Linked DNA regions of Homo sapiens: all the other regions are linked to region 4. The links are contacts of gene promoters, found by promoter capture Hi-C in blood cells and fetal thymus (Javierre and others, 2016). All regions are on one chromosome and are shown on one strand. The core of a region is centred on a gene start or on the middle of the fragment in contact, and the rest is flanking DNA. Distances in the headings are between cores, read along the strand shown. Region 1 holds the start of SLC35A3 (solute carrier family 35 member A3). Region 2 overlaps CDC14A (cell division cycle 14A). Region 3 has its middle 17 kb from the start of MIR553. Region 4 holds the start of SLC30A7 (solute carrier family 30 member 7). Region 5 has its middle 87 kb from the start of LINC01307. Region 6 holds the start of RTCA (RNA 3'-terminal phosphate cyclase). Region 7 has its middle 130 kb from the start of LINC01307.

Region 1 (3,274 bases), core at 465-2,964, 930 kb before region 4:
CACATAACATTTATTAATTAAGTTTGCCTTTCTATATGAGTGCAGTACATGGCACCTGTATTAGTCCATTTTCATGGTGCTGATAAAGACATACCCGAGACTGGGAAGAAAAAGAAGTTTAATTGGACCTACAGTTCCACATGGCGGGGGAGGCCTCAGAATCATGGCGGGAGGTGAAAGGTACTTGCTTACATGGCTGCAGCAAGAGAAAAATGAGGAAGAAGCAAAATCAGAAACCCCAGATAAACCCATCGGATTTCATGAGACTTATTCACTATCATGAGAATAGCACAGGAAAGACTGGCCCCCATGATTCAATTATCTCCCCCTAGGTCTCTCCCTCAACACGTGGGAATTCTGGGAGATACAGTTCAAGTTGAGATTTGGGTGGGGACACAGCCAAACCATATCAGCACCCCAAAACAATTACCATAGTAACATCAAAGATCATTGATCACAAAGCACTATACCAGATATAATAATGATGAACAAATTTAAATATTGCAAAAATTATTGAATATTATGTGACACAGAGACACAAAGTGAGCACATGCTGTTGGAAAAATGGCACCAATAGATGTGCTTGAGGCAAGGTTGCCACAAACCTTCAATTTGTAAAAAAAAAAAACAAAAAAACAAAAGCAATGTCTGTGAAGAGCAATAAAGCAAATCACAATAAAACGAGGCATGCTGTTATCATCATCTAACAGGCACATTTTGGTTTCAAAAAAAACTGGGCATGTATTAAGATCTAATATGTATTTTACCATCCAGGAATTTTCTCAAGACTGTATTGCAGAAAATTTTAAAACCAGTTATTCTACTCTAATACAGTTACTTATTTTTCTTCAATATCACTTTTTTTCTAAGTATGTCTCTCTTGGACATGGTTTTAATCATTTGCAATATAAAGAGACATAGGCTTAATTTATAGCAGCCCTGAGTTAACAAAAAGAGATAATCCTATTCGCTTATTTGATAATCCAGCTGAACCTGAAGTACTGATTTCAGCCTGTTCATCACCTGAATGGGCTGCCGTGGTTAGAGGGTTTCCAACACAGCTACTGGAACACTTTTAAAAGGTAATGCTGTGATCCATGCAGCCAGGAAGGGGTTGGTCCCTCATAACTCTGCAATCCTCTGGGCCCAGTTTTCTTTTTCCTCTCCCGGTTGATGACACTAGGCCCATTGGTGGTACGGCTTTGGGTTTCCTTCAGTCTCAAGATCTCAGTCAGGGTGGGTGAAGTGGAAGAACAAGCCTTCTTGCAGACCACTGGTTGGTTGGCAGCCTTTGCCATAGCTAATCTGGTTGTTTTCAGGTCAGTGACAGTCACTTTTAGGAGAGGGTTCGTTTGCTTTCAAAATCCATCTCCCCGTTCCTCTCAGGGTTCTTTGCCCCAAAGGACTTTGCCCTTCCTTACGCAGTGGACACCTTGGCACCCTCTGCAAACAGACAGTCCCGCAGAGGCCCTCGACGAGTGTCACTCCATCTGTTTCGCGCTCCTAGGAGAGGTGTAGCAGAAAGCAGTGCCCCAGGCCTCCACGCGACGGTGAAGCAGGAACCAGGGGCTGCCAGCAGAGCAGCCCAGGTGCGTCGCCTTAGGGACAGAGCTGCCAAGTGCCGAGCTGGGGCTGCCAGAGCCGAGCCGGGAACGGCATTTGCCAGAGCCGAGGCGGAAGCCGGAGCATTTGGGGGACGGGACCGCGGGAACCCGGAAACGCCTGGGCTGCACCGAGCTGGCGGTGGCTACGGCGACGGGAGCCGGCGGCGCTGCGGGTCAGCGGTCGCGTAGGACCCAGCGGACTCGGCAGCCTGGGGCGCCCGGCGGAGCTGAACCGCGGCCCCCGGTGGTGGGCTCAGCCGGTCGAGCTGCGCGGGAGGTGAGTCCTCAGCGCACCTGGGGAGGGGCGGGAACCAGGAGGCTAGCGGCTGCGGGGCGGCCCGGGAAGCTCCTGGAGGAGGAGGAAGAGGAGGCATGCGAGGGGGCTGATGTGAAGTCTGTAGGGGTGAAGGGGACGGTATCGAAGACCTGAAATACAGTGCTAGCTAAGTAGGGGTGGGAGCAGATGAGGTGACACGTTGTAACTCCGACGGACGACGTGCGGAATGTACTGGGTGGAGGAGGAAAAAAGGCCCGAGGAGAGGGGTGTGTCAAGCGAATGAAGACGGCAGTGTGTGCCTCAGCGCCTGGTGCGTGCGGAGCTAGTGACGGGTGGGCCCGGCTGGGGCCCGTCATTCCTTCAGTGAACATCCCATGAGCTCTCGCTCGGTGTTGAGCCCTGTGGTAGGCACAGATGCACCCGACCAGCACCTGGAGCTCAAGAAGCCGCAGGAACTTAAAGAAATGGAAAGGCTGCCCTTGGTAAGGCTAGTAAGAACACAAGGACTGTTTGAAGTGGGGTGAGATTCTCATCAGAACAGGTGTGTGGGTGCATTGCTTTATAGTAAAAGACGATCTTTTATTATGTTCTCTTAAATGCAGTATTTGAAAATTAAGTCTTTTCGTTTTTGAAATCAACATTCGACTTTAGTAGTTAAAGATGAAATTTGGTGCAGTTTCTTACTTGGTGTTCTTATTCACTTTCACTGGTAAACTCAGGGTGTTTCAAGGGAATGACTTGTAAACTTATATTTCTGAGGCTAACTTTCCTCCCAACTGTTGATTCTATCTCTTCAGCATCTCAAATTTAGTTCTCCCCTTTTTCATTCCCACTACCTGTCTGCTAAATATGCTCGTCTTTCCTCTTCTTACTTGCACTATAGCAATAACTTCCAAACTGGACTTGTCCTCAGCCTGGCACCCTTCCAGTCACTTGCCTCCATATTACTTTTAAAGCCAAAGATCTTATGACTTTCTTTTTTTGGTTATTCCTTCCTCAGAAATACGCAGTGACTCTCGATCGGCTTCAGAATAAAATGTAAATTATTTAGGGAGGCATTTAATAAATTTTATATTATTTAGGGAGGCTTCAGATTTTTCCTTCAGAATTTGAGTCTGACGGTGGCTCCAGTAAAATCAATATGATTCTTTTTTTTTTTTTTTAGACGGAGTCTCGCTCTGTCGCCCAGGCTGGAGTGCAGTGGCGCAATCTCAGCTCACTGCAAGCTCCGCCTCCCGGGTTCATGCCGTTCTCCTGCCTCAGCCTCCTGAGTAGCTGGGACTACAGGCGCCCGCCGCCACGCCCGGCTAATTTTTTTGTATTTTTAATAGAGACGGGGTTTCACCATGTTAGCCAGGATGGTCTCGATCTCCTGACCTCGTGATCCACCCAC
Region 2 (3,217 bases), core at 448-2,947, 520 kb before region 4:
TGGGTATTATAATTAATCTGGGAACCGAGTACTATCTAGGGTAGCCAAAGAGAAAGGAGTCATTATCAGGAAAGTAAAATCACTGGTCTGACTCAGTGTTCTACTTATAGCAGTTGCAGAAGAGTAGATGGGTTGAGTTGAGAGTATTTTTTCTACCATTTTCTACACTGAACAGTATGGTAAGTATATGTATGTAAACTTGTTTCTATTTGCTTTCATTTATAATGCTGTGTTTCGACATTATTAATAAAGTTTAAACACTCTCCTTGGTTCATTTTAGTGGTAAGGTAATCTGTTGGTTGTCTGGAATGACATATGTAGCTTTAGGACAATTAATGGGCACTGCATTACTTGCTGAATGATTGAATTTTAAAAACCCAAATGTTGATAAGTCATGAGTTGTCTCAATGAAGCATACTACATAGAATCTCTAATTAGGAGAAAAAGATTTACTGTACCAGTCCAAAGTTGGAATTGCTTCAGTTTTGTGGAATCTTAGTTTCTTCATCTGTAAAATAGGAATTATAGAACTGTCACAGGGTGGTGGTTAGTATTATATTAGAAAACATGTCTTAGTCTGTTTTGCATTGCTATAAAGGAATACCAGAGGCTAGGTAATTTATAAAGAAAAGAGTTTTATATAGCTCATGGTTCCACAGGCTGTACATGAATCGTGGCACCAACATCTGCTTCTGGTGAGTCCCTCAGGAAGCTTTCACTCAAGGCAGAAGGTCAAGGGGAACAGTCATGTCATATGGCAAGAGAGGGAGCAAGGGAGAGGGGAGGGAGGTGCCACACTCTTTTTAACAACAAAATCTTGGGGGAACTAAGAGTGAAAACCCACTCAATCCCCTCAGAATGGCACCGAGCCGTTCATGAGGGATCTGCCCCCATGACCCAAGGCCCCACCTCTTAACACTGGGGATCACGTGAGATTTGGAGAGGACAAATATCCAAACTATATCAATATGTAAAAGCTTTGTACATTTTAAAGTCCTATACATAATAAAGTTACCAATGTAACATTTGTGAATTCTGATAGGGAATATAATAAAGACAGTTCTTCTACAAAATCGATGAACACCTGTTTCTCAGCCTTAAAGCTATTGTTTATATATGGGAAAGCTGTCCAATATAATTTTAGGAATCTAAATGACCATTTAGTCAAGACTCAGAAAGGGAAGCCTGGGAAAGGTGTGTGACTTGCCCAGTGCAGCAGGCAAAGTCAGGGCTAGATTTCATGGCTCTTGACCACATTTTTCCTGTTCTTCTTTCCACCTTCAGTAGGAACCATAGCCTCTGGTTTACAGTCATCCTTTGTTCACTCTTAGCATTGCCCCAGCTACCTGACCTTGTTGTCCCACGCTGACTTTGAGGCTCCTCTGCCTCTTTCATTCCAGTAAGTGTTAGGGCCATTCTGTCTGCTTCACTTCCACGAACCCAGACTCCAGATTCTCCCACTTGGAAAATGCCTTTGTTACTCACTTTGCACATTCTGTCCCTCTCACACTACTGGGATTGCTAGACCTTCAGTCTCCCTGTTCTCTCAGTCCACTGGCACCCTGCTGATGTCTCTTGCCTGCAGCCCATGGTCACTTACTTCAGTAAGGTCTTGGGTACTTTGCTTTCTTGTCTTTCTGCCTTGCCAGCTCTCACCCTTGTTGTTTTCCCAGTGGATGATTTCATGCACTAATTTACTGGGAAGCAGCAGTACCCTTGCCACTCCCAGCCTTGCACTTTACTCTACCATACCAGCTGTTCCATGCATTTGCTCATGAAGACCAGTCTGACTGGGATGCCCTTACCCTCTGGCTTGATAGCTCTTCATTCTTTAATACCTTGTCCAGCCACCACCCTTTAGGAAGCATCTTCTTGTCCTTTTGGACTGGATTGAGGGTGCCTCCCTTGTTTTCCCATCATTCTCTGTGCAGATCTGTATCGTTGATGAATTGTAATTACCTGTTTGCACCTGTCATTCTCACTAGACTATGAGCTTCTAGAGGGTGGAAGGTGGAGGATGTCATGTATCTTTGTGTTCTCAGTGCCTAGTGCAGGGACAACAGACACACAGAGACTTCTTTTGACTTTGTCATGATCCCCTTCATTTGCAGATCCCCCTTTCTCCTTTTGCTTCCAGAGGTTTCAGAAGAAGAGCCTGCCTCCATCCTTCCTGTGTGCTGATTTCTTAACCCTTTGTTATCTAACTTTTGCCTTCCCTACTCTACCGAAACTGCTCTAATAACGTCTTAAATGCTGAATCTGATGGCACTTGCTGGATCCTCAAACTCCTTTACTTCTCTGAGTAATTTCGCACTGTGTTAACTAGTAACTTCGTCTTAGGATTCTTCTCTTGTGTGATTTCCCAGTTCTTTTAGGCACATTTCATTTTTTAGTTTGGAAATTTTTATTCCTTCCAAGAAAGCTTGTGTGATTTTTCTTCCTCATTCTGTGCTTTATATAGATAGGTAATATTTTGCTGTACATTTTATTCCAATCCCAAATTTCTCATTTTTGAAATGAGAAGATGTTTTTTTCCAGTTGATGATTTGAGTTGGTGATTTATCGCTATTTTTGTGTTTCTGTGTCTATATGCATTCTATTCCCAATGTCCTTATTTTAATTATGTCAATCAGAATGGAAAATTATCCCATCAAACATATGCTTAGATTAAAAATCCAAACATAAAATGCATCATCACCAATAAAAAACCTGCTGCTTATTTAAACTGTACTTTAAAAAATTGTCAGTACTAGGAATTAGGCAGTAATAGGTTGCTGTTTGGTCTTTCCCCTAGGATAGGGGAAGCAATCAAAAGAGGGAAGATGCATTGAAGTGAGAACAATTTGTTAAACTGTGTATGTTATTTAATGTTAAATGTCATCAATGATTGATAGCCTTGAGCTGGAATTATTATTCTGGTAATTCAAGGGATCCATAAACCCTTGAAATTATACAATTTTGTATGTATTTACATTTTTCTTCTGGGAGGATTCATGGCTTTTTTTCAGGTTCTCAGAGGGATCCTTGACACAGACATGCTAAGAACACTGGGCTAAAGTCTTCTGAAAAAGAAGACTTTACTAACAAAAGACAAAGTTGTGGTATTTTGAAAAAACTGAATACCTTCCTCTATTCTTTTTTTTTTTTTTTTTTTTTTGAGAGGGGGTCTCACTGCGTCACCTGGGCTGGAGTGCCATGGTGCAGTCATAGCTCACTG
Region 3 (3,192 bases), core at 526-3,025, 600 kb before region 4:
GGGATTTGTTGTACAGGTTATTTCACTGGCCAGGTACTAAACCTAGTAGTACCCAATAGCTATTTTTTCTGATCCTCTCCCTCCTCCCAATCTCCACCTTCAAGTAGGCCCCAGTGTGTGTTGTTCCCCTCTTTGTGTCCCAGTGTTCTCATCATTTAGCTCTCACTTATAAGTGAGAACATGCAGTATTTGGTTTTCTCTTCTTGTATTAGTTTGCTAAGGATAATGGCCTCCAGGTCCTGCAAAGAACATGATTCATTCTTTTTTATGGCTGCATAGTATTCCATGGTATATATGTACCACATTTTCTTTATCCAATCTGCCACTGATGGGCATTTAGGTTGATTCCATGTCTTTGCTATTGTGAATAGTGCTGCAATGAACTATTTTTGAATTTTGTATTATACCATCATCTCTCTGTAATAGCTACTGAGAAGAAATCTTTCAGGAAAATAATTTGGAGTAGATGTTTGGCGTTTAGTCATTTCCACATTGATGAGGCTTATGCCCCACTCCACAGGAGAAAGCAGAATTGTAGTGAACTTTTCCAGTATCTCTTTTGGGCTACTTGTTCTTCAAAGCAGGGAGAGGAGTCAGTAATCTGGTTGGTGAAAGCCTGACTTCCATCAGGAGACAGTCCCCTCCACTCCCCGTAACTGGTGCACTGCCTGCAGCAAGGACAGTAAGAAGGCTGGGTCTCCCGCCCACCTTCCCCCCATGCTCCTTCGTGAAAAGACACTTGTACAGTGGAATTTTTTAGACAGACCTGTGATCCTTTAGGTGGTGGCAGGGCAGGTTTGCTCAGGATCTGCCTTGAAAATCTTCCCCACTGGCTGGGGCTAAGCCTAAATTTAAGGGGAGGCAGTAGGTGGCTCTACTTTGACTTCAGGTCCTAGATCTCTTGCTTCCCAATCCAGCTTTACCAGAGAGCCTCTATTTTCAAAGTTATTAGTGCCCTGTATCTGTCCTTTTTTTTGTTTTGTTTTTTTAATGGAGTCTTGCTCTGTCACCCAGGCTGGACTGTAGTGGCATGATCTCAGCTCACTGCAACCTCTGCCTCCCGGATTCAAGCAATTCCCCTGCCTCAGCCTCCTGAGTAACTGGGATTACAGGCATGCACCACCATGCCCAGCTAATTTTTGTATTTTTAGTAGACACAGGTTTTCACCATGTTGTCCAGGCCGGTCACGAACTCCTTACCTCAGTGATCCGTCTGCCTCGGCCTCCCAAAGTGCTGGGATTACAGGCATGAGCCACCATGCCTGGCCCTCCTTGTATCTGTTCTTTATTGATTAGAACCTGTAAGAAAGGAGGCAATTTTACTGCTAGTATGAAACATAAAGTGTCTTTTTAGGAAGAACAATTGTGAAAACATTGTTTTGGTGATCATTAAAATAATCAGACTCTTGTAATGGTGGTGTTGATGGGGTGGTGATGGTTGGTGGTTTCTTTTGGTTAGCTCTTTCCTTCACAGTAGAAAATTAGTGTGACATTTGGTTTTTGTCTGGGTTTTAATGTGTGCTGCTTCCACAGCTCTGAGATGGAGCTGATTGATAGGTGTGCATGATATGTTTTTTCAGTGATTTCTCTGGGCACACAGGCATTTCCTAAAGGAGAAGGGGAGGGGGGAAAACACTCAGGGACTCCTTACTACAAAGTTAACAAAAACTCCAAGTAAAGCCAGATTAAAATGCACATTAAAAGCAGTAGTGAAAGGGAAAGACTTGGTCTTTGTAGATGTTAATGGGGTAGGGCCGGGCAGATATCCCATCACCTGGTGGAGATTTCAAATGACCGTTTTCTCTTTTAGCAGTAGTACCACCTTTTTCTTTCCTATCCTGACCCTAGCCAATGTCTTTTGTGGGCAGCAATGTGCTACCCTTCATTTAATACAGATGCTCCTCAACTTAGATGGGGTTATCTCCCAATAAACGCATCGTAAGTTGAAAATAAGTCAAAAATGCATTTAATACACCTAACCTACTGAACATCATAGCTTAGCCTTGCCTACCTTAAACATGCTCAGAACACTTACATCAGCTTACAGTTTGGCAAAATCAGCTACTTTATAATAGTGTTGAATAGCCTCGTGATTTATTGAATACCGTAATAAAAGTGAAAAACAGAATGGTATGTTGGTTGTTTGCCCTTGTGATTGTGTAACTGACAGAGCTGTGGCTTGCTGCTGCTGCCCAGCATCATGAGAGATATTGGACCGTATATCGCTAGCTGGAGGAAAAGGTAAAAATTCAAAATCTGAAGTGTGCTTGCATATCGCTTTTGCACCACTGTAAAGTGAAAAATTATAAGTTAGACCATTGTAAGTTAGGGACTGCGTGTATATCCAAAGGTCAAGCACTATACAACAGCTATGCAGGATATCCCTAGGAGGACAGAACCTTCTGGACCACCTTGTAAAGCTCAGTGACTTAAAGCCATTGGTGGCCAAATAAATGCAAAACACACACACTGGCCTGTAAGAGTTTAGAGAAATTGGAGTTCAGCAAGTGGAACCACTGAGGCAACAATTTCTGAGGCATAGGTGGATCTGTCCTACCAAATAATTCACGGGGCTTATTTTGAGTTTTCTGCTATGTGTTTCATTGGTCCCCAAAGTCAGTCATAACCAAAATACTGATTTTGATATTTCACTGGTTATACGCCCATGAATCAGTCATAGCTCAATCAAGAAAACAGAAACCACATTTGTTATTGCAAACAAAGGTGGGATCTTACGTAGGAAATTGTTATGTAGTTGTTGGAAGGCTGAAAGAGGAATGAGAGGACACTGAGATAACCAAAGATTAGTAAGTGCAAGCAGTTAACAGCCTTAGGACTGGGGAAATAAAAGGTAAGAGTAGTGTTATCAGAGTGCAACCTGGCAGGCGCGCGTGTGGTTTAGGTGGCATGGCCTAGTTGGTGAGGGAGCACAGTGGGGCTGGTATTTCTACTGTCAAGGGAGCACAGCAAGGGTGTTGCCAGGGCTGCAATGGTGCTAGAAGAAGCTCAGTGCCACAGTTTGCTGCTGCTGCTATGAAAGCAATCCTGACAGGAACTGGAAGCAGGGAAAGTCCTTTCTCCCTTTCTTCCTCTCTCTTTCAAAGCTCCACTCAGGGTTTTCTTTTTGCAGAACCTAACCAGAAACCAAGTGGCAAGGGAGTCTGGAAATTATATTTTGCACACCCAAACATG
Region 4 (3,188 bases), core at 377-2,876:
TTAATTAACATTTTTCAAAATTGTAGAATAAGTACATATTTTCAAAAATAAAACCACCGAATACTCCATACACACACACAAAGTTCTCAGAACGAGAGCAAAACATGCATATATCCTCACTACAAAAAGAAAAATACTAATACTGGAGCATTTTGCTGTGTCTCCTTACCTCGAGTGCAGTAGATTGCAGTAGGGCCAGCCGATTTATTTCCCTGCAGCTTAGTTATCATAAAACGGAAGGGGCGTCTCGTTTGCTCATTTTTGTTTTTTTTTCTAAACCAAGTAGCGTGCATCTATCCTTCTCCATTAGCTGGATTAACAACCTGGAAAAAGTGCCGCCCGCAAAGTGAGCGCCTGGAGCAAGGGACAGTCCCCGAGTGGCCGCCCCTCCCTTTCGGTGACGCTCCACTTCCTGTCGGCCTAAAAGGCATTCCCAGGAAGCTCGGTTTTGTAGTTTCCAGCCCACCTCCGAAAGCCAATCCTTTCCTCCATTTCTTCTCCAAGGTAACAACTTTTAAACATTCACGTGACGGACCACCTTCCCTCAGCCAAACAACTTCCCTGAAAGGCGCCCGAAGGAGCCTTCCCATCCACCGCGGGTGCCCAGGAAAGGCCTGTGGGGCTCTCCTCCCCGCGCTCCACACGCCCTCGCATCCCACCGAGGGGCCAGCTTCTGCCTGCACGTTGCTGAAACTGGCCTGGAGGTTCTGACAAGAATTAGAGCGGCGGCCGTTGCCCCGGGGATGACCTGGAAGCGAAAGAGACCGGCACGAATTCTAGAGTTTCGGGGTTTCCGCGGGTTGAGATTGTACGGGAAACAATGCATTAACCAAACCTAAAAATCAAACAAACACGTCTGGTAGAACCTACCATTAAAAAGCTTCTTTCCTATACTACGTTTAACAGCCTTTATTTTGAAAGACATTGATTGATGCCAGGCATGGTGGCGCACGCCTGAGGTCTCAGCTACTCCGGAGGCTGAGGAGGATCACTTGCGTCCGGGAGTTCCAGGCTGTAGTGAGCCTCATTGTGCTCCAGCCTAGGTGACAGGGCGAGACCTTGTCTCTTAAAAAAATAAAGAAAGAAAAACATTGATCGCCTCCTGCGTGGCAGTCCAGAAGGGTCAAGCGCTGTTTTCGGGGTGGCGTGGAATGGATTCCTAAGATTTGGGCGCCCATAGAGTTAACGCAGCAAAACGATCACTTGCGTTTCCTGCGGACTGGCGGCAATAGAACACGTGGCTGCCTAGACTCTTAATCACTGATATCTACCACACCAGGATTTAATGCCAGTTGGGAGGAAATGGCGAAAGGGCAGGCGCTGGAGCCCATGCATCCGGGAACACTGGTGGTAGGCGGTCGGGTGGGCGTGAGCGGGCTCTCCATCTCCCAGCCCAGTCTGCAGGTCGCCACCTCAGGATTTTCTTCCTGAGTCCGGGTGGCAGGATTCCATCCCAGGTCAGCCCCTCACACCCCCTGGTAGTTGCCACCTCCTGGCGTCCCTCCAACAGCTCCAGCACCTTTCTCATCCCGCCCCCGCCGCAAGCCACGCCCTCCGCCGCGCAGGCCCCGCCCGCGACCGGCCTCCCTCCTTTCCTGTCCCAGGACGCGTTGCGCGGCCCGGGCCGGAAGTAAGCGAATTCCCGGGTGTGTGTCTGTGTCTGTCTGTGTCTCGCAGCGGCGCGCGGCCCCGGACAAGCGCTGGGGATTCCCGTTTGAGGCGTCACTACTGTCACTGCCATCACCCCACGGAGCCACTTCTAGAGGGGAGTAGACCCGGCCCTTCGCCGGGCAGAGAAGATGTTGCCCCTGTCCATCAAAGACGATGAATACAAACCACCCAAGTTCAATTTGTTCGGCAAGATCTCGGGCTGGTTTAGGTGCGGGGTGCTGTGTTTGCGGGGAGGGGGTGTCCGGCAGAAAGGGAGAAGGCCCAGACCTCAGGATGGCCCGAGGTCCAGTGAGGGAGAGTCAAAAACTCCCCGTCAACCCCTAGCTGTGAAGAAAGGAGCATGTGAACTGGGAGGGTCTTGAAGAGGGTACCCAGCCTCGGGGTCCCGGCACCTCCTTAACTCTCCCGGCTCTTTTCCACGTGTATCATTCCCAGGTCTATACTGTCCGACAAGACTTCCCGGAACCTGTTTTTCTTCCTGTGCCTGAACCTCTCTTTCGCTTTTGTGGAACTACTCTACGGCATCTGGAGCAACTGGTAACCAAAGGGGAAAATGGTTTGGGCGGAAGCTGGGTGTGAGGGAGACGAAGCACTGTTTGCTTAATGCCACGTAGCTCCTCACTAGGAGGTTCAGGTCCTACCTTTGTTACCTACCTCTGCTGCTGAGTTGCTTTCTCATACCCACACCAATCTGGTAGGGCTACAGTTCTTGAGTAAGATCTGGGCCTATCCTGTGCAACCTCTCTTGTCACGCTCCCCTCCAGTTCCATCAGACAAGACTGACAAGCCCCTCCTTATTTTAGCAGATGGGCAGAATCTTTCATTTCTAATTGTAGGCCTTAGGTTTACCCACTTTGTTGGAATTGGGAGAAACTTGTTTGCTGCCTCTCTCGGGGGGGAGTGGCATTTGGATTTCACCCTTAAGATTCTGAGAGAGTATATCTGAGATGTTCTACTTAGTTTGTTATTGGGGCTTGGAATGGGAGGTTTTATAAAGTGATATCGGGAGGAATATGTGTCATTCTCTTCTCTCTTTAATGCCGAAACTGTCTCATGATTTTCCTGTAGTCTTAACTGCGATGTAAAAATCCCATATAGTTTCTAGAAACAACATTTCTTGGGTTTTGGTGGCACCTTTGAGGGTTTTTGTTTTTTTTGAAACATCCTTAGGAGGAGGAAAATCTAGTGTGTAACTCTGTGGCAGTGAAGTTACTATTATTCAGGTATTTGCTGTTGAGTAACTTAAGGTCTTATGAAGTTGTTCTGCTAACAAGACTGTCACACTCCTAGGTGTACTAATTCTGTCTTTAGATCCCATACTCCTTCAAAAATCTGATGAAAGCCAATACTCAGAATTGTACATAAAGCTTCAGGATGTTGTTGGGTTCCCTGTACTAAATCTTGGACTCTAGATTAAGAACCTGTTTTCTATTTATTAAATAGACTTAGTCTCTGTTGTTTAAGACCCATTTTCAGAGAAAATCGCTGTCCTTGATCTTCTGTTGAGATCAAACATT
Region 5 (3,068 bases), core at 48-2,547, 510 kb after region 4:
GGCACAAACAAAACAAAACAGAATGAAATAATAACTGTAACAACAACAATAACAATATAAGAAAAAACAAAACACAAAATTCCTAGGAAGCAGTAGAAAAGAAAATAAAGAGATGAGGAAGAGCTCTGAGCTCTGACCTGCTTTATATTTACATATGTAAATAGTGTCTCAACATACATCCTATCTCAACAATCCATTTGAAAAATGTGATCATATTTTATACAACTTGAAACTCATTTTTTCACATAATAATCATAAACATCTTTTCAATCATCTGATAAATGTATAGATTATATTTTAATAGTCAAATATTGCTACATTACATATAACTTATCTAACCTACCCCCAATTATTGGACAGTTATTACCTTGTTTTTGCTGATACAAACAATAACAGGCTAAAGTAATTATATAATTATTAATGTCTGGGTTTACAGCCCTTTACACTTATGATAGGTATGTGGAAAATATATAATCAAAGTCATGGCAGACATTACTCACAGATCATGACATTAAAGCTGAGCCTGTCAGCACAGTGCTCAATGTATCCACAAATAATTGATTGGAGATGACAAGCTGGTTGAAGTCTAGGCTGCTGTATCTCTGTGAGTCTTCCTATTGCTAAAAACAGGAATGGAGACAGGTTGGGGAAAATGGCAGATATGAGGCAGGACTAAACTGCAGCTCCCATTCAGACAGAGAGCAGCATGTGGAGACTCACATCGTGAACTTTTGCTCCCACATCTATCACAGGAACATACCAGGAAATCTGAGAGAATTCACAGACCCTCTGAAGGAAGTGAATCACTCTTGCAGGCCCCGAGAGACAGCCAAAGTGTGAAAGTGTGAAAGGGGGATCATCCACCCCCAAACACACACTCTCACTGGGGAACCTGAAGGTTCAGATCACAAGAGAAGGATTTGACTTTACCCGGGGTTGAGACAATTCTAGAAAGCTGAGCAAAATACAAGGGTAGAAGAAGCAGCTAGAAGAGCCCTGTGGCTCTCTTGGTCCCCAGGGAAACCATTTCTGACTTTGTCTCACAGAGGTCCTTGGGGAGTGCTGCCAGAGGAACTGGGAAAAGACCACAGGGAGGAAACTTTTAGCTGAACTGTGTAACAACTTCAACTGAACACAAAGTTTCCTGGATGGAACTTGAGGGAGGGGTGAATCTGGAGTGCAGACACAGCACAGAAGCTGTGGCAGGTGGGGAGCCATGAAACCTGAAAGCCCTGCTTGCTTTTACAGCTGGAGATTGGTAGCCTGGAGCAAGTTATCAGCCCTGTTCACCCACTGCCTGGAAACAAACTTGGTGCTGTAGAGGGGGCCACAGCAAGAGTGAGACTGGCCTTTGGGATATGTGGGAGCTGGGTGAGGCCTGTAACTGCTGGATTTCCCCCACTTCCCTGGTGGCCTACAAGACAAGGCAGAGGCAGTCATAATCCCCCTAGGAACATAACTCCATTGGTCTGAGAACCACACACTCCATTCCCAACAGTGTCTACAGCAAGCCCCACCCAAGGATAGTCTGAGCTCAGACCTGCCTAACCCTGCCCCCACCTGATGGTCTTTTTCTACCCGCCCTGATATCCGAAGACAAAGGACATATTGTCTTGGGAGTTCCAAGGCCCTGCCCACCACCTGATCCTCCCTATACTACCACAGCTGATGCTCTCTTGGAAGTTCACCTTCTGGAAGGAGACCAACCAGCAAAAAACTAGTACAATAAACAAAACTACAACTAAGAACCTTCACAGAGTCAATTTCACTCCGCTGCCACCTCCACCAAAGCAGGTGCTGCTATCCATGGCTGAGAGACCTGAAGAAGGATCACATCACAGGACTCTGTGCAGAAATCCCCTGGTACCAGCCCAGTAGCTCTGCTGGGTGGCTAGATCCAGAAGAGAAATAACAATCACTACAGTTCTGCTCTCAGGAAATCACATCCCTAGGAAAAAGGGGATGGCACTACATCAAAGAAGCACCCTGTGGGACAAAAGAATCTGAACAGCAGCCCTTGAGCCCCAGATCTTCTCTCTGACATAGTCTACCCAAATAAGAAGGAACCAGAAAAACAATTCTGGTAATATGACAAAAGAAGTTTCTTTAGCACATCCAAAAGATCACACTAGCTCATCAGCAGTGGATCCAAACCAAGAAGAAATCCCTGATTTACCTGAAAAAGAATTCAGAAGGTTGATTATTAAGCTAATCAAAGAGGCATCAGAGAAAGGTGAAGTCCAACTTAATGAAATAAAAAAAGATACAAGATATGAAAGGAAAAATCTTCAGTAAAATAGATGGCATAAATAAAAACCAATCAAAACCTCTGGAAATAAAGGACACACTTAGAAAAATGCAAAATGCACTGGAAAGTCTCAGCAATAGACTTGAGCAAGCAGAAGAAAGAACTTTAGATCTTGAAGACAAGGTTTTCAAATTAACACAATCCAATAAAGACAAAGAAAAAAGAAAAAAAAAATGAAAAAAGCCTCCAAGAAATTTGGGATTATGTTAAATGACCAAACCTAAGAATGATTGGTGTTTCTGAGGAAGAAGAGAAATCTAAAAGTTTGGAAAACATATTTGAAGAAATAATTGAGGAAAACATCCCCAGCCTTGCTAGAGACTTAGACATCCAAATACAAGAAACTCAAACAACACCTGGGAAATTTATCACAAAAAGATCATCACTTAGGCACATAGACATCAGGTTATCTAAAGTCAAGATGAAGGAATGAATCTTAAAAGCTGTTAGGCAAAAGCACCAGGTAACCTATAAAGAAAAACCTATCATCAGATTAACAGCAGATTTCTCAGCAGAAACTTTATAAGCTAGAAAGGATTGGGGCCCTATCTTCAGCCTCCTTAAACAAAACAATTATCAGGAAAGAGCTGTGTATCTAATGAAACTAAGCTTCAGAAATGAAGGAAAGATACAGTCTTTTTCAGACAAACAAATGCTGATAGAATTTGCCACTATCAAGGCAGCACTAGAAGAACTGCTAAAAGGAGCACTAAATATTGAAACAAATCCCATAAATACACCAAAATAGACCCTCTTTAGA
Region 6 (3,140 bases), core at 142-2,641, 630 kb before region 4:
GAACCTACGTTGAAATATTGGGGGCGGGTTCCCCCAATAAAGATGTCAGATAGGGGTACAGCTTTTTTATATTCCATCCCTACCATCATTGCCTTACTTCAACTTCTGATTATTTCTTGCTGGATAATTGTATCATTGGCATTTCTCCCTTCAGGCTCTTAAGCCTCTTATTCACCCTTCTCCTACTGCCAAAGCCTTCATTTTAAAATGCAAGTATCATTACTTCTCTGATTAATATCTTACGGCAAATTCCAGATTTGGTTAAGTACATAGTCTGTGTGTTCCCTAAAACATTCTCTGTCGCAAAGCAGCAGAGCGTTGGGATTACCAGACAGTGGTGTTCACATCAGACCACCCAGGTTCACATCTCAGTCTTCTAGTTAAAATTGTGTGACCTTGTAGCAAATTGTTTAACACAGGAAGCTGTAAAACAGTAAAAACAGTAAGTACTTTATCATGTTATGAATGCATGCAGTGCACAACACCTAAGTGCTCAATAAGTGTTGCCTGTTATTGTTACAGTATATTATTAATATATTGTAATTGTCCCCATAATAAACTCTAAATACAGTACATGTTAATTATTATTGAGGATGACATTGTAATTGATTACGTCTCAGTCTCTCCATTATACCTCCAATAACTTCGGGGGTAGAAGCTGAATTACTCTTTTTTGCTTCCCTAGAGGTTTACATATTATTTGGTACTCAATTATGTAGGAACTGAGCCACAGGCAGAACCAAGAAGCTGGCTATTGCTTCTGCCCTCGCCTGAGGTGAATTGTTAGCTGCACTGTTCCTGGGAGTCAAGAGCTTGCACTCACTCTCAAGCAAAATGGCATAACTTTGGCTTTTCAGAATATTAAACTAGTGATTCTGCCTTTCCCGCCTCTCAAATAAATGGTGTGTCACCCTAGAAAGAAAGATAACACACTCCGCATACACAAACACGCACACCGCAAGGAACCAAAGGCCAAGAGTATCAATGTACCAGGGCGCACACACTTCGAGAGACAGGTTCGGTGCATCGCAGGATCCCAATCTTTCTTGCATCTTCAGCTCTAAAAGTCGGCACCTCGGGGTATGCCAGGATCCTCGAGAAAACAGATATAAACACATATTTACCCACAAAACAGAGATAAAGCACAAGCCTGCGGGATAACTGGAGGAGTTATCTTACAGTTGAGACTTTCTGCAACCTGCAGATTTTGCCGTGCCCAGGGCACAAGTTTTTCAGGGCTCCTGGGCACCCCCGCGACCGTCATCTCACTTCCCCGGCAGCTTCCTCGCCCCGACCGCAGTGTTCCCAGCGCGGCTCCTTTAAGCCGAGCTACGCGCATGCGCACTGACTGCGGAACTGGGCGAACCCGGGGGTTCGTTTCTGCTGACTCCAGTGTCCCGAGAGGCGCCGCTTCTTCCGCTTTCTCGTCAGGCTCCTGCGCCCCAGGCATGAACCAAGGTTTCTGAACTACTGGGCGGGAGCCAACGTCTCTTCTTTCTCCCGCTCTGGCGGAGGCTTTGTCGCTGCGGGCTGGGCCCCAGGGTGTCCCCCATGGCGGGGCCGCGGGTGGAGGTCGATGGCAGCATCATGGAAGGGGTGAGTACAGAGCGAAGCGGCCGGGGCTGCAGCCTAACTAAGGAGGGGAGCTCTCACCACCGGTGTGCTTACTTCTCTTCTCCCTGTACCCCAACCTTTGCAGGGCGGCCAGATCCTGAGAGTCTCTACGGCCTTGAGCTGTCTCCTAGGCCTCCCCTTGCGGGTGCAGAAGATCCGAGCCGGCCGGAGCACGCCAGGCCTGAGGTAAATCTGGCTGGAGGGGGAGTTGGGCCGTGAAGCTGGGGGATCGGGGGGTCGGGCTGCCGGGCTGGGGCATCGGGAGTCCGAGTGGTGGAACCCAGAAGGTCCCAGACGCAGGTATGGGCGATCCAGGGCGGGGCACTCTGCCTGGGCGGTGGCCTGGGTTGTAAAGTCTTGAAAGCCTGGAGGGGTGAGTTTAGAAATGGTCTCGAGTTTTCTCTGTTTGACTAAATAGTGTCATTTGCTGAAGAGCTAGCTTTTAAAATGTTTTCTCACCTCACCGGGCATTCCAAATATCCGAACAGCACGTATGAGCTGGCAAGATAGATAGGGCAGAAATGCTTGTGACGCCAGAGGAAACCCTGTTTTATAACCAGTGCATTCTGGTTCTGCTGTCAGTTTTAGAATCATAAAACAGGAAAGAATCCTGAGATGTGTTATCCCAGCCTTCATTCATACCTCCAGAGAGCTGTTATGACCAGAATTATCTGTTGTGGAGAGGGAAACACCTTGACATTTGACCTTATTTCTTCTGTCTGGGTAGCTGGGCATGCCACTAGTTGAGCTTCAGGTACATGCACCTGCTAGAAGAGGACCCAGGTTTGAAGCCACACTGATTGCTTTGTATGTATTCTGTATTTATTACATTTTAATAAATCAGCGGTCTCAGTCTTTTGTCTACAGTTTTGAAATTACCAAAAGGCAATTACTGATATGTTAATGTTAATTGCCTTTGTCATAGTTTGCAGCCCTCCAGTTCACCAACAGGGGAATCCAATTCATTAGGCTGTAGGTGTTGTATTAGTTTGCTAGGGCTGCCATAACAAAATGCCACACACAGAGTGGAGCTTAAACAACAGAAATTTATTTCCTCACAGTTCTGGAGGCTGGAAGTCCAAGATCAAGGTCCTGACAAGGTTGGTTTCCTCTGAGAGCCATGAGAAAAGGATCTGCTCCAGGCCTGTCTTTTTGCCTCTTCACATGGTGGTTCCTCTGTGTACCTTGCCCCTAGCGTCTCTGTATGTTCTAGTTTTTTTTTTTTTTATAAGGACACCAGTAAGATTGTATGGTGGCCTTATTTTAACTTAATTATCTCTTTAAAGGCTCTATCTCCAAATATAGTCACATTCTGAGATACGGAGGGTTACAGTCTCAGCATATTAATTTAGGGGGAACATAGTTCAGCCCATACAGGCACCATAGATTGTTCAGTCAAGTGCAAGCGAGACTGGTGGCACTGAAATAACTATTAGTTTTCTTCTTTAGCACACTTCTAATTTGCAGCAATATATCAGGGTATGTATTTATAGTCAGAAATAACTGGTCTGCAAGGAAGTGTTAAA
Region 7 (3,234 bases), core at 484-2,983, 560 kb after region 4:
AGTCTAGTTCCCAGGCAGGAAGGGGTTTTGTTTTGGGAAATGATTGTTATTATCTTTGTTTCAAAATTAAACTATAAACTAATTCCCTCCCGGAGTTAGTTTGGCCTACGGCCAGGGATGAACAAGGACAGCTTGGAGGTTAGAAGCAAGATGGAGTCGGTTAGGTCAGATCTCTTTCACTGTAATAATTCACTGAGTTATAATTTTTGCAAAGGTGGTTTCACTCTCATGCCACAACAATCATCAACACAGAAGAAGACTTCTGTGACTAAATGTGTGTGGGTATTTCCCCCACACGCCAAGCAGTGAATATCAGTTGATACCAGTATTCTAATTCAGTTCTGATACTATCTTTCAGTTCTGTTGCTATCTACCCTGAGATAGTGTCGGATCCCACAGGTTAAGGGTTCCCCAAGACAGCACGCCCCCAACACACACACTAGTCACAAATCTGGGCTTCTGGAATTTCTGACTGACTGTCTTCAAATTGGGGTCCTCATGACCCCCCTTTTTGATTCAATTAATTTGTTGAAGCAGCTCACAGAACTCAGGGAGACACTTACTTATGTTACTTGGTTTATTATAAAGGATATTGCAAAGGATACATATGAAGAGACACGTAAGGTGAGGTATGGGGTAAGAGGCTGTTACAGTAGGCAGCTACTCAGACATAAGCTGGGCAAGAGAGGTCCCCTTCCGCTCCAGTAGGACTGTCAGGCGACCACCATGTGATGGTCAGGCAGTTGCTAAACTGTCTCTCTAAAATCATAATTGGCCACAGCCAGTGCCAGGAAAAGGCAGTCTCCCAATAGATAGAAACATCTGAAATTGGTGATTAGCAGCTTCTCGGTAAGATATCAGGAGTTGGGTGAGTGAGCTCAAGCCTGTGTACTAAGAGGCAAAATGGTGGGGTTTAACTGGTAAATGACCTTCTAGGACATTTGACTGGTAAGGGAACATGTGCTCAACTCTAAACAGTAAACACAGAGCACGCGGCCCCTCCCAAGTGCTGGCAGGCTATGAATGCGGACAGCCCACCTCAAGAGAAGAATCCCGGGAGAAGAGATGCAGACCTCGGAAGCATGCCAATGTATAAAACCCCAGGTCAGAGGTCAAACCGCGCGCTTATCTCTCAACTAGACTGCTTGGCCCTCTTCCAAATGTACTTTACTTCCTTTCATTCCTGTGCTAAAGCTTTTTAATAAACTTTCACTTCTGTTGTAAAACTTGCCTGGGTCTCTCACTCTGCCTTCCGCTCCTCCGTCAAATTCTTTCTTCTGAGGAGGCAAGAATTGAGGTCGCTGCTGACCCATAAGGATTCACTGCTGGTAACATACTTTGGTGCCGTGTGACTCAGATACATTCCCTAGTGCTAACAGGGCAAAGAGCTTTTGTGCCCTCCCTGGGCGTGCCACCCCCCAGGAACCTCCACGTGTTCAGCTCCCAGGAAGCTCCCGTAACTATTTCTTGAGATCCTGCAGAACACAGTATCTAACTATAAGCTTAATATAGTCCAATAAATATATTGACTGATTTGTCATGTGTGCCTCTATCTCCCTTTACATTACCTTGAACTCTTGACTTCCTTTCATTTACTCAAGGTCATTCATCAGCTCCAGAGAGGATCTTTAGAGCACAGCTCTGAGAATAAGAGTGAAGTTCTTGGTTTGTGAATTGTGAAAATTTGGACTTGGGTGCTAGAGACCTTAGCCCTGCAGTGGGCAGAATTTAGGCCCTAAGTGATAGATTTGGAAGAATATGCTGTGCATCAGAGGCAGTTTTCTGATATTCAGATAGGTAAAGATTCTATGGGATGAGAGAGAGAAAACAAATCAGGAGAGAATCACAGGACATTGCCGATGTGTCTCTGAGACAGGTCCGACACTCCTCCCAGCCTCTTGGGGCTGAATCTTGATGAAGGAATAATGACGTATCCCCATATGGGTTTGGGGATCACAGCAGAGAAAGCTTGTGCCTTACTTCCTGGGTGAGATGGAAAGTTAATCATGTTTACAGTCTTGTACTGCAGGCTTAGTGTAGAAGTAGGAGAGATGGTGGCTTGTTGAGTTCTTTTGCACCATGTAGGAAGCAGCCAAAGGTTTTCTATGTCCTCAGGAGACACACAAAATGAGAGAAGAAGGTGGGAGGGAAGAGAAACAGAGAATATGTAGGGGTGTTCTTCCTGAAGTCACAGGAAAGAAGGCATCTCAGCAGATGCTAGTGTGGAGAGATGAGAACAACTTTCTACCCACTTCCTGCCCCAGCCCACAGCCTTGACATCCTGTAGGCTTCCCCTTCCCTATATTAAACCAATCTTGGAAAAAGGAGGAGAAAACTGTAATTGAATCGTATATGCCACCTGGTGGGATGGGGGCTAAAAATAGAAATTCCGTCTTGGTGATAGTGATGTTATATTTCTTGCATACCCAAGCTTTATTCCTCTGACATTTGTGAATATTCTTTCCCTCAAGCTCACCTCAAAGTCCTCATCTTTCAAGAAGCATTCTATTGCCTTTCCTCGGTATCACATAATTTCTGATTTATTTCCTCCCTTGCACAGTGCCGCTGGACTAAGAGAAAGAACATGCAGATTCTAGTTTCAGCTCTCATTTGCTGAATGTCTGATGGAGAACAACTCACTATCTCTGGGTCTCCATTTGCTTTTATGTAAAACAGTATGTCAGAGGAGGTTGTGAGTTAAAGCTGAATAATGGATGAGGAAGTGTTTTTATTATTTTTATTTTTTGAGACAATGTCTCTGTTGACCAGGCTGGAGTGAAGTGGCGTGATCTCAGCTCACTGCAACTTCCTCCTCTGGGGTTCAAGCTATTCTCCTGCCTCAGCCTCCCGAGTGGCTGGGATTACAGGCCTACCCCACCATGCCCAGTTAATTTTGTATTTTTAGTAGAGATGGGGTTTCACCATGTTGGCCAGGCTGGTCTTGGACTCTTAACCTCAAGTGATCCGCCCCCCTCAGCCTCCCAAAGTGCTGGGATTAGAGGCATGAGCCACCACACCTGGCCGAGGAAGTGTTTTGAGGACAAGAAAGTTTCAAATGCATGTAAAGTGGGATTATGGCTGCAACTCTTTTACCCTGGCTGCAATATTCCTAGCTGGGAATGTGATTTTGGTATCATTTATATATTTAAATTAGGCATGAACTACATTTCAGGATCTCTATTCCCACTCATTGAGAGGTTGAGGAAAATCCAAGAATCGAATCCCTTCTCAGTT

The links. The method cuts DNA at HindIII sites, captures the fragments that hold promoters and counts their contacts. A CHiCAGO score of 5 or more calls a contact.
Region 1: the fragment with the promoter of SLC35A3 here is called in contact with the fragment with the promoter of SLC30A7 in region 4 in 6 of 17 cell types (total CD8 T cells, naive CD8 T cells, naive CD4 T cells and 3 more); the score reaches 8.9 in total CD8 T cells.
Region 2: a fragment that was not itself captured here is called in contact with the fragment with the promoter of SLC30A7 in region 4 in 1 of 17 cell types (activated CD4 T cells); the score reaches 5.8 in activated CD4 T cells.
Region 3: a fragment that was not itself captured here is called in contact with the fragment with the promoter of SLC30A7 in region 4 in 1 of 17 cell types (monocytes); the score reaches 5.6 in monocytes.
Region 5: a fragment that was not itself captured here is called in contact with the fragment with the promoter of SLC30A7 in region 4 in 2 of 17 cell types (total B cells and naive B cells); the score reaches 6.5 in total B cells.
Region 6: the fragment with the promoter of RTCA here is called in contact with the fragment with the promoter of SLC30A7 in region 4 in 7 of 17 cell types (M0 macrophages, M1 macrophages, naive CD4 T cells and 4 more); the score reaches 9.8 in M0 macrophages.
Region 7: a contact is called between a fragment that was not itself captured here and the fragment with the promoter of SLC30A7 in region 4, in 2 of 17 cell types (total B cells and fetal thymus). The highest score is 7.5, in total B cells.

What each region holds. Positions count from the first base shown.
Region 1 is chr1:99,968,282-99,971,555 of GRCh38, forward strand. SLC35A3 (solute carrier family 35 member A3) reads left to right here and starts at 1,715. Exons shown (of 8, transcript NM_012243.3): 1 at 1,715-1,881. All of the region lies in intron 1 of LOC124904230 (a long non-coding RNA gene), which reads right to left. RefSeq lists enhancers at 1,195-1,244, 1,305-1,354, 2,075-2,164 and a silencer at 1,755-1,954. The HindIII fragment of the contact is 6,900 bases long and covers 1-3,274 here.
Region 2 is chr1:100,379,077-100,382,293 of GRCh38, forward strand. All of the region lies in intron 3 of CDC14A (cell division cycle 14A), which reads left to right. Among named protein-coding and RNA genes, the nearest start is that of CDC14A, 28 kb to the left of the region's middle. The HindIII fragment of the contact is 1,445 bases long and covers 976-2,420 here.
Region 3 is chr1:100,296,967-100,300,158 of GRCh38, forward strand. No RefSeq gene overlaps it. Among named protein-coding and RNA genes, the nearest start is that of MIR553, 17 kb to the left of the region's middle. The HindIII fragment of the contact is 9,400 bases long and covers 1-3,192 here.
Region 4 is chr1:100,894,464-100,897,651 of GRCh38, forward strand. It overlaps SLC30A7 (solute carrier family 30 member 7), which reads left to right and starts at 1,627. Exons shown (of 11, transcript NM_133496.5): 1 at 1,627-1,879; 2 at 2,107-2,208. The coding sequence starts at 1,800. EXTL2 (exostosin like glycosyltransferase 2) reads right to left here and starts at 379. Exons shown (of 5, transcript NM_001033025.3): 1 at 170-379. RefSeq lists enhancers at 1-434, 435-1,157, 1,052-1,121, 1,672-1,921, 1,972-2,131. The HindIII fragment of the contact is 2,158 bases long and covers 879-3,036 here.
Region 5 is chr1:101,409,592-101,412,659 of GRCh38, forward strand. No RefSeq gene overlaps it. Among named protein-coding and RNA genes, the nearest start is that of LINC01307, 87 kb to the left of the region's middle. RefSeq lists enhancers at 660-709, 730-779, 1,080-1,159. The HindIII fragment of the contact is 3,236 bases long and covers 1-2,915 here.
Region 6 is chr1:100,264,825-100,267,964 of GRCh38, forward strand. It overlaps RTCA (RNA 3'-terminal phosphate cyclase), which reads left to right and starts at 1,392. Exons shown (of 11, transcript NM_003729.4): 1 at 1,392-1,596; 2 at 1,700-1,800. The coding sequence starts at 1,552. It overlaps RTCA-AS1 (RTCA antisense RNA 1), which reads right to left and starts at 1,350. Exons shown (of 3, transcript NR_110435.1): 1 at 1,180-1,350; 2 at 1,005-1,093; 3 at 1-423. RefSeq lists enhancers at 1,083-1,632, 1,201-1,560. The HindIII fragment of the contact is 11,806 bases long and covers 1-3,140 here.
Region 7 is chr1:101,451,855-101,455,088 of GRCh38, forward strand. No RefSeq gene overlaps it. Among named protein-coding and RNA genes, the nearest start is that of LINC01307, 130 kb to the left of the region's middle. RefSeq lists enhancers at 561-610, 980-2,179. The HindIII fragment of the contact is 466 bases long and covers 1,501-1,966 here.